Regions from separate parts of the Homo sapiens genome. Here all the other regions are linked to region 3. Evidence: promoter capture Hi-C in 16 types of primary human blood cells and fetal thymus (Javierre and others, 2016). All regions are on one chromosome and are shown on one strand. The core of a region is centred on a gene start or on the middle of the fragment in contact, and the rest is flanking DNA. Distances in the headings are between cores, read along the strand shown.

What was found. Contacts are between HindIII fragments. The CHiCAGO score rates a contact against its expected background, and 5 or more counts as called.
Region 1: the fragment with the promoter of TADA3 here is called in contact with a fragment that was not itself captured in region 3 in 3 of 17 cell types (naive CD8 T cells, neutrophils and erythroblasts); the score reaches 5.3 in naive CD8 T cells.
Region 2: a contact is called between the fragment with the promoter of MTMR14 here and a fragment that was not itself captured in region 3, in 1 of 17 cell types (neutrophils). The highest score is 5.2, in neutrophils.
Region 4: the fragment with the promoter of CAMK1 here is called in contact with a fragment that was not itself captured in region 3 in 1 of 17 cell types (monocytes); the score reaches 5.5 in monocytes.

The regions. Positions count from the first base shown.
Region 1 is chr3:9,791,203-9,794,331 of GRCh38, forward strand. TADA3 (transcriptional adaptor 3) reads right to left here and starts at 1,271. Exons shown (of 9, transcript NM_006354.5): 1 at 1,014-1,271; 2 at 58-291. The coding sequence starts at 264. It overlaps ARPC4-TTLL3 (ARPC4-TTLL3 readthrough), which reads left to right and starts at 1,346. Exons shown (of 12, transcript NM_001198793.1): 1 at 1,346-1,922. The coding sequence starts at 1,920. ARPC4 (actin related protein 2/3 complex subunit 4) reads left to right here and starts at 1,880. Exons shown (of 6, transcript NM_005718.5): 1 at 1,880-1,922. The coding sequence starts at 1,920. RefSeq lists enhancers at 1-98, 1,203-1,729, 1,656-1,755, 1,730-2,256, 2,456-2,545 and silencers at 1,086-1,175, 1,236-1,525. The HindIII fragment of the contact is 10,858 bases long and covers 1-3,129 here.
Region 2 is chr3:9,647,925-9,651,117 of GRCh38, forward strand. It overlaps MTMR14 (myotubularin related protein 14), which reads left to right and starts at 1,581. Exons shown (of 19, transcript NM_001077525.3): 1 at 1,581-1,818. The coding sequence starts at 1,660. RefSeq lists enhancers at 1,176-1,405, 1,213-2,108, 1,395-1,564 and silencers at 1,436-1,545, 1,646-1,745. The HindIII fragment of the contact is 16,951 bases long and covers 1-3,193 here.
Region 3 is chr3:10,076,250-10,079,450 of GRCh38, forward strand. FANCD2 (FA complementation group D2) reads left to right here. Exons shown (of 44, transcript NM_001018115.3): 30 at 1,832-1,948. Among named protein-coding and RNA genes, the nearest start is that of FANCD2OS, 30 kb to the right of the region's middle. The HindIII fragment of the contact is 8,985 bases long and covers 1-3,201 here.
Region 4 is chr3:9,768,165-9,771,266 of GRCh38, forward strand. It overlaps CAMK1 (calcium/calmodulin dependent protein kinase I), which reads right to left and starts at 1,783. Exons shown (of 12, transcript NM_003656.5): 1 at 1,668-1,783. It also overlaps a transcript of OGG1 not described here. RefSeq lists a silencer at 1,554-1,733. The HindIII fragment of the contact is 10,493 bases long and covers 435-3,102 here.

The DNA.
Region 1 (3,129 bases), core at 21-2,520, 290 kb before region 3:
CATCCCATAACTTGTTGCAGTCCATCTCTGGTGCTGGCCCCTCTCTGGGGTTATCACCTGGGTTTCGGCCTCAAGCACACGCAGGCGCCGGCTGGCAGAAGACAGCAGGGTCTCCAGCTCCAGCTGCAGGGTGTCCAGCTCCTCGATGCCGATGCCATCATCCTCAGAGCGTGCCAGCACTGCCGTGTAGCGGGGACAGACCTTCAGGTGATCCACAGACTTGAAGTCGTGGAACTGCAAGGGGCAGTCTTTCAACTCACTCATGGCCCAGGATATGGGGATCCTGTGGAGCTGGAGAGGACAGGGCCATTGATGGGAGACAAAGTGGTCTGAGAAAAGCCCAAGGGCTTCTTACCTCCAGGGACAGCCTCAAGGAAGCCCAGCTTCAGTCCCTTACTGACAAAATTGATGGCACAGTTCCTACTCACAGGGCACTTAACTGGGTACCAAGCTAGGTGCAGAGCACTTTATCAGTTTATCTCACTGAATTTCTCACTCAGCACCATGAACAAGGACCATTGTGATCTCGTTTTTACAGAGAAAGAAACTGAGACTCTGTAAGGGTGGGTATGTGCCTATGCTTCCAAGATGCAATTTGAACCCCGCTAGTCTTGAGTCTGCACCCTGATCACCATGCTATACTGCTATGCCTTGCCTCGCCTTTCTGATGCTCTTTCCTTCCCTTCTATTTCTCTTGGGTTCTGCTAAGACTTTGAGTTCCAAGCACCCCATTCTTACCATGTTCTCTGGGACTCTTGGCCTCTTTTCTTACCCTATTCCACCTTTCTCCCTTCTCTAGTCACTAACAGTGGTTTAGAACGTGGGCTGGTAAGCCAGACAGACCTGGGTTCAAGCCCAGGCTTTACCATTCTCTACTTATATGCCCCTGAACATGTTATTTGACCTTTTTCAGTCTCAGTTTTTCCATCTGTAAAATGGGGACAAAAGAAGTCTCGGTCTGTTTCCCCATTAAAAGTCTGAATCTGAAAAATGGGGATAACAATAGTACCTACCTCCCTGGGATGTTCTGAGGATTAAGAGATGATGCCCGTCAAGAGCCCAGTTCAGTGTCTGGCACAGAAGTGGGACTGTTTAATGGCTGGCCCCGCCCGGGGGTCGCCCAAATGTCCCGCCTTCAGAGTCCTCGTTCTCTAGGGACACCCTAGTGCGACCCCCGCCCCCTCTACCTCCTCGCTGCGGCCTCCTACGGCCCCAGGGGCCGCGGGAGGGGGCGGGGAGTTCCGGTCGATGTGAGCAACCGCCCCGGAACTGGCTATGGGCGGGCCCCTTGCAGTTGACGCGGGGGCGGGGAGTCAGCGAGGGCGAGCCTACTGGAGTTTGCCGGGGGTGGGAAGAAGGTGGGCCTCGAGCAAAGCCGCTAGAGGTGGGGTGCGGGTGGTCGGCCTCAGGCGAGCCCCGGGGCACAGCCCGGGGCGGGAGGCGGAGCTTGGCGGCCGAGATCTCCGCGCTGCAGTTAGCCCCGCCGAGCGCCAGGAGCTGCGGGTAGGAGGGGCGAGAGAAAGGATGGGGGTACAGAACCGGAAGAAACGAAGGGCTCGTCCGCTTCGGCTTGTCCTAATTTGGTGCCCAATCTGAAGCTGGGCTGTACCATTGCATACCTGGGGGAGGCTGTGGCAAAGGTGACAAGAAGGCCGAAGGCACAAAGGGAAGCTGCACCCATTCCTGGAGGAGCTTAAATAGTGACTCGAGTGCAAGAATTTAAAAATACCGAGACAGCCCTAGGTGGAAAACTTCCGGAAGGCCCAAGCGTTCGTAAGGGCTCTCTACCCCGCTCGGAGCATAGATGGTACCGTCCGGAAGTCCGGGCGGAGACCGTAGCTGCGCTTCTCGCGAAAGGGCAGGCATCGCGGGGCTGGCCACTTCCGTACTTCCGCTTTCCGGCCCAGCCAGCGCCCGCGATGGTGAGAGAGCCGGGCCCCCGGCCAGGGACCCCCGGCTGTTCGGCCTCAGGGCAGTGGGTCGGTGGGAGATGTGGCTTTGCCGCAGGGGCGCGGGGCCGAGGGATGTCCGGGGGTTGTGGGGACACGATGAGGGTGGGAAAAAGAGACGGGGCGGGGGCCCGAGGTGAGGAAGGGGCGAGTGGGGGTACTCCCTGGTATGAAGTGGGCCTTGTGGCTTCACGGTCAGCCTTCGAAGCAGGTAGGGGCTTTTCCTGAGCCCTGTAGGAACCCGGAAGTGGGGTCTCCTAGGCTCTTTGGAGCATTTCGAGGGTACGTAGTCGGCCTCTTAGCCTCTGAGGCATGAAGCAAGTCCACCTGCCTATCCACAGTGGAACTTCACGACATACGCCCTTTGTCCTCTTCTGCCTTCCTGACCCTACAGTTGCTTAAGGCAGGCGGCCACACTTCCTTATCCCATTCTTGGTACCTCCAGCCCTGCTTCCACCCCATTGGAGGATCTCTCGTGTTGCTTCCATTCAGGCCCTTCCTGGTCAGAACTGAACTGTGTCAGCCTTAGTGTATGTTAGCTGTGATACTGCTCATCCCTCCCTTCCTGGAAGTCCTCCCTTTTTCATACATGTGGGCCTTTTTCATACATGTGGGCCTTTTTCATACGTGTGGGCATTCCTGGGAGTTGTGACTTTGGATGACCATCTCCCTCTTCGTCACACCTTCCCTGGTGATACCGATCTAGTCTCCTGGCTTCGATAACTTTCTTCATTCTGATGACTCCTAATCTGGCTTCTCAGCTCTCTTTCAAGGTTTGCCTGGATATCTTGAAGAGACCTTGAAATTAGACCTCTAGTTCAAAACTCATATTCTATTCTAAATTTGTTCTTCCTCCTGGGTTCCCTATCCTGGCAAACTTTTGTGACCTCATGTCTCTGCTAAAAATCTGTATTTTTTTTTTCTAGTGGGGCACATGCCTCTTGATTTTTAAAAGTTCAAGTTTATTGAGGTATTACATGAGACTACATCTGTTTTATTCATGAAAGGACAGGCGTCACGGAGCCAGTCACCCTTTTTAGGTTTACTTTCTATAACTGTTGACAAAGGCCAGGCGTGGTGGCTCACGCTTGTAATCCCAGCACTTTGGGAGGCAGAGGCGGGCGGATCACGACGTCAGGAGATCGAGACCATCCTGGCTAACACGGTGAAACCTCTTCTC
Region 2 (3,193 bases), core at 331-2,830, 430 kb before region 3:
GCAGGGTGGTGGGTGGTTGTTGGTGAGTGGGTAGTGACTGAAAGTGGTCAGGAGGAGGGTTCCGGGGCGCTGGTGTACATATCATACTTCTATTAAAAGTTTAACAAAAACGAATTACTTTCATTCAGACTGGGTATTAGACCACATTAAGGAATATTGTTAATTTTCTTAGGCATGTTAATAGCCTTATATTTTTTATGTATTTTTTTTTTGAAGTACAAATCTGTTGTGATAAATGCTTAAGTATTCACAGCTGAAATAATGTGATGTCTGGGATTTGCTTTAAAATAATTCCCTGGATGGGAAGGGACTGCTTAAACAGGATAGATAAGCAGATGTTGATTATTGTTCAAAACCAGTTAATGGGTACATGAGGGTTCATTATACTATTGTCTCCACTTTTGCGAATGTCTGAAATATTCTAATAATAATAATAATGAGAGGCTTCTCATCACAGAATTTCAAGGCAGTCGCTTCACCTCCCTGACTCCCAGTTTCTACCTCAATAAAATAGGGCTGATGATATAATGCACTGTACTCACAGGGATGTTGTGAGCAGCAGGGGGAGAAAGGGTTTTATGAAATGTTGTGTTTTTGTTTTTGTTTTAGAGACGGAGTCTCATTCTGTCACCCAGGCTGGAGTGCAGTGGCGCGATCTCGGCTCACTCTCCGCCTCCCGGGTTCAAGCAATTCTCCTGCCTCAGCCTCCCGAGTAGCTGGGATTACAGGCACCTGCCACCACGCGCGGCTAATTTTTGTATTTTTAGTAGAGACGGGGTTTCACTGCGTTGATCAGGCTGGTCTCGAATGCCTCACTTCATAATCCGCCTGCCTCGGCCTACCAAAGTGCTGGGATTACAGGCGTGAGACACCGCGGCCGGCTGAAATGTTTTAATATTGGTAACCACTGCCATTATGGTTTCTAGTACTAATTTGTTGCCTCCAAGCGTTCTCTCCTCCTCGCCCTGTAATTTTTTTTTTTTCTTAAGACAGAGTATTGCTCTGTCACCCAGGCTGGAGTGTAGTGGTTCGATTTCGGCTCATTGCAACCTCAGCCTCATGGGTTCAAGCGATTCTCCTGCCTCAGCCTCCCAAGTAGTTGGGATTACAGGTGGGTGTCACCATGCCCGGCTAATTTTTTTATTTTTAGTAGAGATGCGGTTTCACCATTTTGGCAGCCTGGTCTCGAACTCTTGGCCTCAAGTGATCCGCCCGCCTCGGCCCCCCAAAGTGCTGGGATGACAGGTGTGAGCCACCACGCTCGGCTTCCCTGTAATTGTTGATTCCACTTTTCCTCTGGTTCTTTTCAATGGTTCCTTCCTGCTACCCCCCTCCCCCGGCAGCCCAATGGTTGAGCCCGGCTTCCCCGGGGGAAACCCCTTGGGGCGGATCACGCGGTATCAGCCAGTGGCCTCCCTGGTGGATAGAAGGATCGCTCTGCGCCGGGGGCGGGCCAGTAATCGTAGGCGGGGCGCGGGTCCAGAGCTCCGATTGGCCAGAGTCGGAGTAAACATCCGGCGGGACGGGGCGGGGCCGGAAGTGGAAGTGGAAGTAGAAGGCGGTGGCTGAGGCGGTTCCGGAGGTTCTAGTGTCGGAGTTGGGTGCAGGCAGGTGCCATGGGCCCGCTTGAGGCACACTGAGGGGACGCGGGGCTGGGCCATGGCCGGCGCTCGGGCCGCCGCCGCCGCTGCCTCGGCGGGGTCCTCGGCCTCTTCAGGCAACCAGCCGCCTCAGGAGCTGGGGCTTGGGGAGCTGCTGGAGGAGTTCTCCCGGACTCAGTACCGGGCCAAGGATGGCAGCGGGACCGGCGGCTCTAAGGTGAGATTGGAGGTGCGATGAGCTGGGGAAGGCTCCTAACTTGGGAAGTTACAGAGGAAAGGCTGAGGCCAGGGGTCAGAAAAAGGTAGGAGTGGTACCTCGCCGCTGAGGAAGAGGAGAGAGAGAGAGGAGTTCTCCAGGGTCTGTATCCGGAGTATAAGAGTCGGTCTTGACAACCATAAAAGGAGGAACTGGGGTCAGAATGAGCCCAGCAAAGAGGTCCTTCTTGTTTGAGAAGGGGTCTGGAGGTGAGAGATCAAGCTGAGGGGCCAGGTTCAAAGATCAGAGAGGAGGACCTAAGGAAGGTCTATTCCCTGCTTCAGGTGCCGTAGGATGAGTTGTGTCAGGGAAAAAGCCCCAAGAAAAAGCTAAGAAAAATAGGGAGACGATTCCTCGGGGTCAGAGGTCAGAATGGAGCCAGGAGGTGAACCCAGTGTGCTGCCCCCTTATAAGGTCTCAGCATGACTTAGGCCCATCCCTTTCCTTCCCCTATAGAGCAGGAAGACAACCCACACTCCCTTTCAGTTCCTTTATCTAAAGCAGGTCTCCGTTCCTCTTTTTGCTCCCTTTGGGATTTCCACCCAGTCGTCTTATCGCCAGACCTGGAGGGCTTCCTGTCAGCTCAGGCCATCCCCACCCTAAGCACTGGCTGGCAGTGCGGTGGGAATCTTGCCGACCCTGCCATCTCATTCCCCCACGTGGTTTTGGCAGCTTTAGCACCAAGTTTTCCAGTGGAATTCTGTTCCATCCTGCACCACAGAACTCTGATTTGACCTCAGAGATTACCGTGAGTTGCTATTCTGTAGTTGGCATCTTGTAGTCTCTGAAGTAACCCAGGGAAGACTTCAGTAAGGATTGGACTTCCTCACTCTCCAAATGGCCAAGTAATTTTTCCAAGTATAGTCTGGGGACCACCTGTTTAATGATCATCTGGGGTACTTTTAAAATTTGTGCTTATGGGATACTTTGTGAAAACAGAGATTCCTTAGTCCCACCCAGTCCTACCAAGTCAGAATTTCTGGGGGTGGGATCCTGGAATTTGCTTTTTTTTTTTTTTTCTTTTGAGAAGGAGTCTCGCTTTGTCGCCTAGGCTGGAGTGCAGTGGCGCAATCTCAGCTTACTGCATCCTCCGCCTCCCCAGTTCAAGCAATTCTCCCTGCCTCAACTTCCCAAGTAGCTGGGATTACAGGACCCCACCACCACGCCCAGCTAATTATTGTAGTTTTTAGTAGAGATGGAGTTTCCCCAGGTTGGCCAGGCTGGTCTTGAACTCCTGAGCTCAGGTGATCCGCCTACCTCAGCCTCCCAAAGTGCTGGGATACAGGCGTGAGCCACCGCGCCTGGCTTTTTTGTTTGTTTGTTTTTGTTTTTTGTG
Region 3 (3,201 bases), core at 15-2,514:
TGAACAGACAAAAGGGAAATTCCCTTGAATTAGTCTTTTTTTTTTTTCCCAAACCCTGTGTGTGGCATTCAAAGTCATTTTTTAAATCACAGGATATTTAGGAAACGCATCTTGGATCCACAACTAGAAAGGTATACAGAGGAATTTATAGAGAAAAAGTATGTCTTCTAAACTATCCTGTCTTGAATTATTATTTTACTATTCTGAATATTTATTTTGGACATGCTTGACTTTATTATATGACAGAGCATAATAGCTATCCTTTATATGAGATGGGTGCAGTTTCCTCCCTTGCCTCTTTTTTCTTTTTAGAGACAGAGTCTTGCTCTGTCACCCAGGCTGAAGTGCAGTGGCAAGATCATAGCTCACTGCAACCTTGAACTCCTGGGTTCAAGGATCAAGTGATCCTCCCACCTCAGCCTTCCAAGTATCTAGGGCCACTGGCATGCCCCACTACACCCGGCTAGTTTTTTTATTTGTTTGTTTGTTTGTTGGAGACGGAGTCTTGCTCTGTCCGTCAGTCTGGAGTGCAGTGGCACGATCTTGGCTTACTGCAGCCTCTGCCTCCTGAGCTCAAGTGATTCTTCTGCCTCCTGAGCTCAAGCGATTCTTCTGCCTCAGCCTCCCAAGCAGCTGGGATTACAGGTGCCCACCACCACATCAGCTAATTTTTGTATTTTTAGTAGAGATGGGATTTCACCACATTGGCCAGGCTGGTCTCAGACTCCTGACCTCAAATGATCTGCCTGCCTTGACCTCCCAAAGTACTGGGAGTTTGAGACCAGCCTGGGTAACACAGTGAGACCTGTCTCTACAAAAAGTTAAAAAAAAAAAGTAGCCAGGCATGGTGACGCACACCTGTGATCCCAGCTACCTGGGCGGCTGAGGTGGGACCATCACTTGAGTCCAGGAGGTTGAGGCTGCAGTGAGCTGTGAACACAATATTGCACTCCAGCCTGAGCAACAGAGCGAGACCCTGTCTCAAATATAAGTAAATAAATAAATAAAAGTCAAATTATTTACCCTGCTGGGCGCAGTGGCTCACGCCTCTAATCACAGCACTTTGGGAGGCTGAGACAGGCGTTATCACCTGAGGTCGGGTTTGAGACTAGCCTGGCCAACGTGATGAAACCCATTTCTACTAAAAATACAAAAATTAGTCAGGCATGGTGGTGGGCACCTGTAATGCCAGCTACTTGGGAGGCTGAGGCAGGAGAATTGCTTGAACCTGGGACGCAGAGGTTGTAGTGAGCCAAGATCATGCCACTGCCCTCCAGCCTGGGTGACGGAACAAGACTCTGTCTCAAAAAAAAAATTTTTTTTTCACCCATTGGGAAGTATTAACATGAAATAGCCAGGTGTGGTGGCTCATGCCTGTCCATAATCCCAATACCTTGGGAGGCCAAGGCAGGAGGATTGCTCAAGCCCAGGAGTTTGAAACCAGCCTGGGCAACAAAGTGAGACCCCGTCTGTATAAAAAAATTTAAAAATTCGCTGGGCCCAGGTGTGGTGGTTCATACCTGTAATCCTGGCATATTGGGAGGCCAAGGCAGAAGGATCATCTGAGCCCAGGAGTTTGAGACCAGCTTGGGCAATATAGTGAGACCTCATTTCTTATTAATTAAAAAAAAAAATGTAGCTGGGCATGGTTGTGTGTGCCTATAGTCCCCGCTACTCGGGAGGCTGAGATGGGAGGATAACTTGGGCCCAGGAGTTCAAGGCTGGAATAGCTATGATCTTGCCACTGCACATTTAACAAAAAAGAAAGAAAAAAAATTATCATGAAATGACTAGGACATTCCTGGAACTAATCCTTTCCTCCATGTGACAGGCTACAGAAGTTGTGCAACTTGGGCCCCCTGAGCTGCTTTTCTTGCTGGAAGATCTCTCCCAGAAGCTGGAGAGTATGCTGACACCTCCTATTGCCAGGAGAGTCCCCTTTCTCAAGGTTAGTGTAGGCAGAAGCATAGGACTTGGGCATAGTGGATTTGGGAACAAAGGAGGTATTATGATGAAAAAGTTGTCACTTTCTTTGGCATTGTGTTTGGGTCACTGGGTAGCATGGGTGCAGCCGTATTGCCAGACAATATTCATCTTGCTTTATTTATTTATTTATTTATTTAGAGATGGAGTCTCGCTCTGTCGCCCAGGCTGGAGTGCAGTGGTGTGATCTCGGCTCACTGCAAGCTCCGCCTCCCGGGTTCATGTCATTCTCCTGCCTCAGCCTCCCGAGTAGCTGGGACTACAGGTGCCTGCCACCACGCCTGGCTAATTTTTTGTATTTTTTGTAGAGACGGGGTTTCACCGTGTTAGCCAGGATGGTCTCAATCTCCTGACCTTGTGATCCGCCCACCTTGGCCTCCCAAAGTGCTGGGATTACGGGCATGAGCCACCGCGCCCGGCCTCATCTTGCTTTAAATAGGAAGTCTGAAGGCTGGGCGTGGTGGCTCACGCCTGTAATGCCAGCACTTTGGGAGGCCAAGGAGGGCAGATCACTTGAGTTCAGGAGTTCAAGACCAGCCTGGCCAACATGGTGAAACCCCATCTCTACTAAAAATACAAAAAGAACTAGCCGGGCATGGTGGTGCAGCTATAGTTCCAGCTACTTGGGAGGCTGAGGCATGGGGAGGAGGAGGTTGCAGTGAGCTGAGATTGCACCAGTGCACTCCAGTCTGGGTGACAGATTTCGTCTCAAACAAAAAAAAAAGTCTACCTGTGCAGTGGTTCACACCTGTAATTCCAGCACGTTGGAAGGCCGAGGCAGGTGGATCACCTGAGGTCAGGAGTTTGAGACCAGCCTGGCCAACGTGGCAAGAGCCTGTCTCTACTAAAAATACAAAAAAAATTAGCCAGGTATGGTGGCGCATGCTTGTAGTCCCAGGTACTTGGGAGGCTGAGGCAGAAGACTTGATTGAACCCAGGAGGCAGACGCTGCAGTGAACCAAGATCATGCTACTGCACTCCAGCCTGGGCATTAGAACAAGACTCTGTCTCAGAAATAAAAAAAAAAAAATAGGAAGTCTGAAACAGAAAATAGAAAGGCACTTGGAATAAGAAATGTATTTCTTTTTTTGAGACGGAGTCTCGCTGTGTCTCCCAGGCTGGAGTGCAGTGGTGCAATCTCGGCTCACTGCAGCCTCTGCCTCCTGGGTTCAAGCGATTCTCCTGCTGCAGCCTCCTGAGTAGCTGGGGACTACAGGC
Region 4 (3,102 bases), core at 533-3,032, 310 kb before region 3:
TGTCCCCGCCCCACCCTGGGGATTGCTGGGGTGTCTCCTTTCCCTCCTCCTTCCCCCGACTCCCCGGCCTCTCCGAAATCAGGTTTCCAGCAGCCTGGGCTTCCAGCAACATCTCAGCCACATTTTTAAATAGCTCTTTCTGCACTGTTACCACAGCAACAACAGCCACAGCTGGAGCTCCCCAGACCTCTCCCTCCTGACTCCCCATCTGGGTCCCGGGAGCATGAGAAATGGTCCTGCTCACTCTGTCCCTTCCTGGCCCCATCTAACCCTATCCAGCCTGGCCCTTCCTCTGCTGAGGTCTGTCTCATCCAGCAGGAGAGGGTGGGAGTTCTCTCCCATTTATCAGATGAAGAATGGGGAGACTGAGGTTGGAGTTAGGTAGAGGCTGGCTCCAGAGGCCCTAATGACACCTGGCCTGGGGCCCCCAGCTAAGCTTGCTGAGGGCAAAGGCCATCGAATGGCCTTGGCTGGTACTTCCAATATGAAGCCAGAATGGGCCCCATTCAGAGAACACAGCCTCCCAACCCATCCACAGATGAGGCCAAAACAGAGCCCAGCATGCTTTGTGACCTCAGGGAGAGCACTTTCCTTCTCTCTTTTTCTCTAAGGGAGAATGAGGAGAAGGTGCCCTGACTAGGGCCTCTGGTGTGAGATTCCACTCCTGGAACAGGACCTTTTTCCCAGGGGACCCTGCCCACCCATCCAGGGGCAGAATCTTCTAGGAAAGGAGACTCGAGTGTAAGCTCTAGAGGCAGAGTCTGAAACCCACATGGAGGCCTACCAAATACAACCCTCACAGATCCACACACATCCCTGTAGCAGACATGCCACACCAAGCCCCCTCCACAGCCCTGAACTCAAACACCTGCCTCCCAGATCCAGTACGCCTTGTATCCACATCCCGTGACACCTGATCATACATGTACTCCCAGACATCAGCACACATGTCCACACCACACAGTGCCCCAGACAGCCCTGCACCCGAACACCTGCCTGTCCATCCAAACATCCCTCACCCAGCTCCCTCTTACACCCCAAAACACACATCCACCCGCACCCACACAAGATGACACCCAGACACACACACACACACCCTCATATACCAGACGTACCCTACACCCTCCAGCTCCTCTACCCCATCCCCTGGAAGCTCCTGTATTCCAAACCAAACCCCAAGTCCTTACACACCTAACTCCAAACATCCTCAGTACACAATTGTACACCCCCTCCTAACTCTGACTTAAGACCCTGAGAGCCAAATACCAGCACACAAAACACGTGGACACCCCTCTGGAACAAAAAACACACAGATTCCCAGATCCTCCACCCATGTCTGACCCACACGCCTGTCCTAAGACAGTACACTCCGCAAGCCCCCCCACCCCATGGATACCTCCAAATGCCCACGCCCTTCCAGTCAGGCCCAGCTGAAGGCGCTCACACAGGCCCCCTTCTCTATTACCCACTCAGTGTCCCATAGGCCCGCCTGGCACCTGCTGGGCCTGGGACAGAGGTGGAGAAAGGCCCAGCCCTGCCCCTCAGGGTCCAGCCCGCCCGGGAGAGTGCCCAGTGGCCACTCCTTGGGAAAGGATACCCAGAGGCTAGGGGCTCCCACCGCCCCCACGCAGCGCCCAGGGGTGCAGGGATGGGGGGCCCGGCTGTACCTGCGGCTGCCCCGCCGCGGGGCTGGCTGGGAGGCCCGCGGTGGTTGGCGCCGAGCTGTGGCCGCGGTCCTCACCGCTGCGTGCCTGGGCCACCCGCCCGCGCTCTTGCTGGAGCTGGGGCTCGGCTCGGCTCGGCGGCTCTCTCCGCCCGCCTGCGGCTCTGATGTCAGTGGAGGTGGAGCCTGCGGCGGAGGGACCCGGGATTGGGAGGCGAGGCACCGCTCCAAGGCTGGGGAAGGGGCACGGGTGGAGGCCATCTCCCTGCTTCTGGTCAGAGATCTCCTGCTGGACGCTTCCCGCCCTTGGTCTTAAGCGGGGTCCATTTCACAGAGGGGACAACTGAGGCCCGGAGAGATGATTTTCAAATCAGCGGGTGGTCGGAAGCAAAGCAGGATTCGAACCCCGTCTGTCTGAAGCTAGAGGCCGGCCAAACTCACCCTGTGGCCTGGTGGATTTTCTTTCAGACCAGTTCTGCGACCTCCCTTAGGGCTCTGTCTCCCTTCTCCGTGCCCTGAAGGGAAACAGGCCCTGGAACTGCACGGGAGTCTGGTGGGGGATGGGGGAGTGAGGGAGTGGGGAAGGACCGGGCAAGACTAGGCAATGAAGAGAGTGGAGGTGGTCGCAGGGTGTGGGCCCCACTTGACAGGTGGGAAGACTGAGGCCCCGGTTCCTCTGCAAGATGGAGCTGAGGCTTCAGCCCCAGACACTTGCTCCTCAGAGCGGGTGGTGGTGCCTAGAGGTATTGGGGGCAGAGGGAATTGGGGAGGAGGAAGTTAAATCGGGATCCTGAAGGAAACAGGCCAAAAAGGACCGAGGTGTCACGTGACTGGCGGGGCTCCAGAGTTTGATGGCTGGGGTCCAGGTTAGGGGAGAGAGCCTGCAACTAGGACGGCAGGCAAGAGGCCAAAGGTCGGTTTGCTCAAGGCCTTCCTTGGGAAGAAATTTGGTGCCGAGTGGAAAGAGGGGGCGGGGGGAGCAACTCGCAGGAATTGGGGATGGGGCTGAACTGGGGGCAGCCGGAGGAGGCACGTTGCTTGGGACCCCACTCCACCTCCAAGGGCCTCCAAGTGCCACTCCCTACTCCTGAATTCTTGCATGTTCCAGCTGGTGATGGGGAGAGAACAGTGCTTATGCCCAGCTCATTTCCTTTTTCTCTTTCTTTCTTTCTTTTTTCTTTCTTTCTCTTCTTCTTTTTTTCTTTTTCTTTTTTTTTTAAGACAGGGTCTTGCTCTGTCACCCAGGCTGGAGTGCAATGGCATGATCACGGCCCACTGCAGCCTCAAACTCCTGGGCTCAAGTCATCTTCCTACCTCAGCCTCCCATGTAGATGGGACTACAGGTGCGTGCCACCACACCTGGCTTTTTTATTTTTTGTAGAGATGGGGATCTCACTATATTGCCCAGGCTGGTCTCAAACTCCTGGGCTCAAGCAATC